2 separate regions of the Homo sapiens genome follow, and region 2 is linked to region 1. Evidence: promoter capture Hi-C in human tissues and cell types (Jung and others, 2019). All regions are on one chromosome and are shown on one strand. Each heading gives the region's core, a stretch centred on a gene start or on the middle of the fragment in contact. The rest is flanking DNA. Distances are from core to core; before and after follow the strand shown. Region 1 holds the start of TRAF1 (TNF receptor associated factor 1). Region 2 overlaps C5 (complement C5).

What was found. Contacts are between HindIII fragments. The study calls those that stand out against the background at their distance.
Region 2: a contact is called between a fragment that was not itself captured here and the fragment with the promoter of TRAF1 in region 1, in 2 of the 25 tissues and cell types used here (aorta and dorsolateral prefrontal cortex).

What each region holds. Positions count from the first base shown.
Region 1 is chr9:120,925,501-120,928,221 of GRCh38, forward strand. It overlaps TRAF1 (TNF receptor associated factor 1), which reads right to left and starts at 1,296. Exons shown (of 8, transcript NM_005658.5): 1 at 1,050-1,296; 2 at 436-801. The coding sequence starts at 575. RefSeq lists enhancers at 1-448, 45-114, 575-914, 1,255-1,574. The HindIII fragment of the contact is 9,494 bases long and covers 1-2,721 here.
Region 2 is chr9:121,023,183-121,025,930 of GRCh38, forward strand. C5 (complement C5) reads right to left here. Exons shown (of 41, transcript NM_001735.3): 9 at 2,272-2,398; 10 at 222-337. Among named protein-coding and RNA genes, the nearest start is that of C5, 26 kb to the right of the region's middle. The HindIII fragment of the contact is 5,266 bases long and covers 1-2,748 here.

The DNA of each region.
Region 1 (2,721 bases), core at 46-2,545:
GATATTCGTCTAACAGTTTGTCATTCACCAAGAGGTTTATATTTGTTATTATAAGGACTTTTGTGATTATTATTCATTGGGCTTCATTAACAATTCTATGACACAGAAAACAGCTTTACAGACAAGCGAGCTGCGGCTTAGGGACATTAGCAGAGCACCAGACCACACAGTGAGACAGTGGCCTCACAGCCTCGAGGCTCTCCTCGGTGTGGATGGCTTTCCCCTGTGGGAGCTGATGCCTTTCTGTGGCTTCCTCTCCTTCCACCACAGCCAGAGGGGCAGTGTCAGGGAGTGTGAGAAAAGGGTGTGGAAACTGAGGCCCAGAGAAGAAAAGTCACCGCCTGAAGTCACAGGCTCCTCTGCCCCTCACCTCCCATCAGGGGTCCCTCCCTGGCACCCACTTTCTGCCCACCCTCCGCTCCTCCATCACCTCACCTCGGGTTCTCAGAGAGACAGCCTGCACAGCAGAGAGCCCTGGGCTCCTTTGGGTCCTGGCAGACGGTGGGAGGGCACCCAAAGGGAAACTCATTCTCATCAGGGGCCGGGCGAGGACTGCTGCCTGAGCTGGAGGCCATCTCAGGGTTCCAGGCTGGCCAGAGGGCCTGTTTAAGTTGCTCCAGGGCAGGGGACCAGCCTTGTGGAGTCCTGGCCTGGGCCTCACTCTCTGGTGAGTAGGAGCTCTGATGACTTTATCTTCTTCTCTCTGGCTTGTGTGGTTCAACGTCACAGCTGAGTCACAGCAGGGATGGAGCAGGAATTACCCTTTGTGGCGATAAAAATCCCCTGGATGGTGACTGAAGGCTTTAGGAGTGTCCAGTCATTTTTTTTTTTTTTTAGAGTGAGAAAAAGCAAGAGAGCAAGTCAGAGAAAATGACCCGTGTCACAGACTCTCAGAAAGCACAGTGAGAGTTCCCCTGGTTGAGAATCGCAGGCTGCCGCTGGCTTCCCCCACTTCCCTGGGCACATCGGAGGAGGGGGCCACAGCTGGTCCCTGGTCTGTGTTCCCTGGCACCTCTGAGCAGCCTGGAATTCTCAGTGGGGGTGCTCACCTTCCTGGTGGAAATCCCCAGGGTGTTGGAGACAGGTCCAAAATTTCAAGTTCTAGGCGCTTTTGCTCTGCTCTGTTTGGAGTGTCTGGGTGACCTCAAGGAGAAGTCACTTCCTCACAGTGGGTTCTGATGACTCCATCTGTAAAAAAGAAGTTGCAACAGGTGGCCTCTGGGCTGTAAGATTCTGGGACCCTATCTTGCCTGGGACTGAGGCAACCAGAAGGAGCAGGAAAGCCCTGATGAAATCCAAGGCCTAGGACCACAGACTCCTCAGGGCCCTCCCCACACCACCCCACTCAGGAAGTCATAGGTGGCTACATGCTCCGGTCAGGTGCCACCACTTTACTGCCTCAAGGAGAACAAAGCGCTAAACAAATGCAAGATCACAGCAGCTGGTCTCAGCATCCAAGTGGGATGTAGATCCACATTTGCAGGAAAAGTGCACTGGGGAAACGATGGCTCCCAGAATGTGTACTGTGTGCTGGGCAACAGTTTCCCTCCAAATCCTTACAGCAACCTGCAAGGAATTCTTCTGCAGCTGTATATAGGGTCAGAGAAGCAAGATGCCTGGTCCAAAGGCACACAGCCTCTGGTAGTGGAGTGGGATTCACACCAGGGCTGTGGGGCCCCAAGCTCTGTGTGCTTGGGATGGAGATCAGAGTACCCAGCTCTTGTCTCATCTATCAAATGGAGAAGACAATCCCTACACATCTTTCCATCCTGCTTGGCTGCTACAGAGGTTTTGCAAACTTTCACAGTGGTTTCAGATCATGGGTTTTGAGGTCAGACAGAGCTGAGTTGAAATCCTGGGTCCACTGCTTACTAACTGTGGGCCCTGGGACAAAGTCCTTAACTTCCCTGAAACTCAGATTCTGCATCTGTAAAATGGGACAATAATACCTATTTCACCCATTTGTTGTGATGACTAAATGAGATAGTGGGTCAAAGTGTGGTGTGTAACCCAAGTGAAGTACTTGAATGACATTTGGCTCAGATGGTGACTACAGGCCTTCCAGCTCCTCAGAGAAAAGGATTAAAGTGGTGCATTATGCTTATACTGTGCTTTCACGTCTATCTACTGGAGCCTCAACAGGTGGGCAGGGCAGGTCATCTGGCCTGAGATACATTAAACTGCCCACCTGCCCTGGTGTAACACCAGGGCTGCCACAGGCTGGTGGCAAAGACAGCACGGCATCTTACCGCCACAATGTACATCAGGACCTCCACCCCCATAACAAACGACCTCCAGGCCTGCATCAAGACTATCAGAAGACACTCCCTTTTAACTGTGTACCCCATACCTGCAAGCTTTCCTGCAGCCAGCCCTACCTGTTCCCTCCTTCCCCTGGTTTGGGATAAAACAGGCACCCAAGACTTCTCTCCCCATCTGTGGGTCCCTTCTCTCCCCTCCGGCCTCAATACCACCCTCTCTACCTGCTCATTCCCACGGACATCAAAACGTGCGCAACCTGCTCTAATAAGAAAAGGGAAAAATAGTACTACTTTTGGGTACCGTCTTACGTAATTTTACAGACATCATCTCATCTAATTTTCACTCTGTGAAGCAGGTATTGCCATCATCATCCCCACCTTACAGATGAGAAAACTGAGGCACAGAGAGGCTAAGCGACTTGTTCAAGGTCTCACAGCTAGTGAGTGGGGACCCCTGAAC
Region 2 (2,748 bases), core at 12-2,511, 98 kb after region 1:
ACAAGGCTATCTTGCCCTCACTTTTGAAGTCATTGCCAAGGCTGCAGCTGACCTTCAATTTCCCATCCCTGTCTGTGTCCACCAGGAGGGGCAGGTTTCACAGAATAAGCTCCCTCTGTGACTTCATGGCAACATTCTTACCCTGTTTGCCACCCACATGTTTTCCATGAACAGAACAAGATGATCATATGTAGCAACGTCTACCCCCTCACCCAATCTACCTTGATGGGATATGGAATCCCAGGCTTCAGGAAAAGAGGAGTAGCAACCAAATTCAGTTTGTAGGGAGAGAGGACATATTTGATGCCAGGTATTTCTGCCTCTTCAGAAAATCCACCTAAGGAAATGGCAAGCATCATGTTGACAGTTTTTAGGAGTATCATGATCTGTATGGATATCCATTTCATCTCTATATGTCTCCACAGACTTATTCATTCACTCACTCCATTCTTGCATTCATTCATTTACCAGTAGTAAGTAGGACATAGGTCTTGCTTCAGAGGGGCACAGCAGAGAAGAGTTTAGACCTCAGGAGTTTCCAAGGCCTTATGCACAAGCTCGTATGTAGAGAAGCCCTTGGAGAAGTAGAGCTACAGGACTGGACTGAGGAAGGATGCCAGGAAGGGACACCACTTTTCATCAGTGGCCTGAGTTTCAGTTGACTGTATTCAAGGGATTGAGGAGAGAGGGAAGGGTCAGGCCAGAAACTGAGCCTTACAGAAGTGGAGGTGGGGGATGGGGGTTGGTGTTCACAGAGCATAGATACATAGAGAGAAATCAGAAAAAGGGAGCTTGATATAGAAAGAACCCTGAAAGGGAGTTCGAGACCAGCCGGGCCAACATGGTGAAACCTCATCCCTACTAAAACTAAAAAACGAAAACAAAAAAAGTGCCAGGCATGGTGGTATATGCCTGTAATCTCAGCTACTCGGGAGGCTGAGGCAGGAGAATTGCTTGAACCCAGGAGGCGGAGGTTGCATTGAGCTGAGACTGTACCACTGCACTCCAGTCTGGGCAACAGAGCAAGACTCGGGAGGGGAGGGAGGGAGGGGAGGGGAGGGGGGAGGGGGAGGGGGGAGTGGGAGGGGGGAGGGGGAGGGGAGGGGGAGGGGAGGGGAGCGGGAGGGGGGAGGGGGAGGGGAGGGGGAGGGGAGGGGGAGGGGAGGGAGGGGAGCGGGAGGGGGGAGGGGGAGGGAAGGGGACATGACCAGACAACTGGCAAGAGCCCAATAATGTTATCCTCCAGGTAAAGATTAAGTTAAACTATTAAGAATAACATTTGAAGCTTTAATATTCCCAAACTCCTTTCCAATATTACATCTCTAATACATTCTATACATATCCTATATTTTAGCCAAACTGGATGATCTGCTGTCCTCAAAGATTAAGCTTCACCATCTACTCTTCTTCATCTGCCCTCTCTCTGGAGGGTTTCTATTTCACCCTGTCTAGCAACTCTGCCTCAAAACCCTAATTATTTTTCAAGACTGATCATCTTCACAACACTGTTCTTGCTTGCTCAACAATCATCTAGAAGCTCACCTTCCTCTGAATCCTATTGCATTAATATTTTGCTTAGAGCTCATATGGAATTCTTTCTTGCAACAGTTCTTTCTTCACCTGTCTTATACCTGATGCTAATTTGTAAGCCACTTTAGTGCTGGCATCATACATCATTAATGTTTGCAAGCCTGTCTGTTTGGCAATACTTTAAATATCTCATAGATACTGCTTAAACTGAACTTATTTAAAATAAGTTGAGGAAAAAATAAAAAGAAGAAACATTAAAATAATGTTGAAAACTTTAGGCTTTAGGAAACATTCAGTTTGACTCCATCATTATGTAGACTATAATAATGATAATAGTAATAACTTTTATTTGTATAGTACTTTATCAAATAGTTTTACACACATAATCTTATTTTGGTTTTGATTTTCACCACGTGAGGACACTAGGGTGCCAAATGGTCAAGGCAGAGAGCCTGCAGAACTACTTTGGACATGAATTGGGTACTGTTTTCCCATTTTTGCAGTAGAAGTGGAGGTAATAGGGACCCAATGGCTTGTCCAATGACTAAAAAGAAGCAGAGCCCTACTGCCTTTTTATAACTATATAAAAGTCTACTTCTTATAATTATATTTAACTATGAAAGAAAATACAATGTGAAATAATTATAGAAATTGGAAATTATTTATATCTTTAATATTCTGTCTAAATATTTTTCAAAAGAAAGTATACACACACACACACACACACACACACACACTTACCTGTAGACTCTATGACTGTTACAGCAATATAAAGGTACTTGTTGTTTAAATCTTCTAAACTGTAGTATGACAGTTCTTTGACTGCTGTTTCAGAATCAAATGTGACTTGAGCAATTCCATTTATCAACTTTTTAAAAGGAGAAAAAGGAGGAGTTATTTCGGAGAAGAACTTATAAGGAAAAATTAATAAAATCTGCTTTTACTAACCTCTAAATTGAAGGTAAATGTCAGAAGAATGGTTTAGTGTCAAAAGTAAAGTAGATAACCGAGTCCACGATTAAGCCCAGGATGTTATTTTCTAATTATTTGTATAGAATTATAGAAGTAGAAGGGTCTTGAACATCACATGGTCCAACAGGTCTTTTTGGTAATAGCTGACAAACACGACTTCTTCCAATTCCTGCGTCATCATTCATCTTTATAGGCCTCTCAGCGTACTTCCGCCCTTAACTGAGAGTTTGTTGGTTTTTATAATAT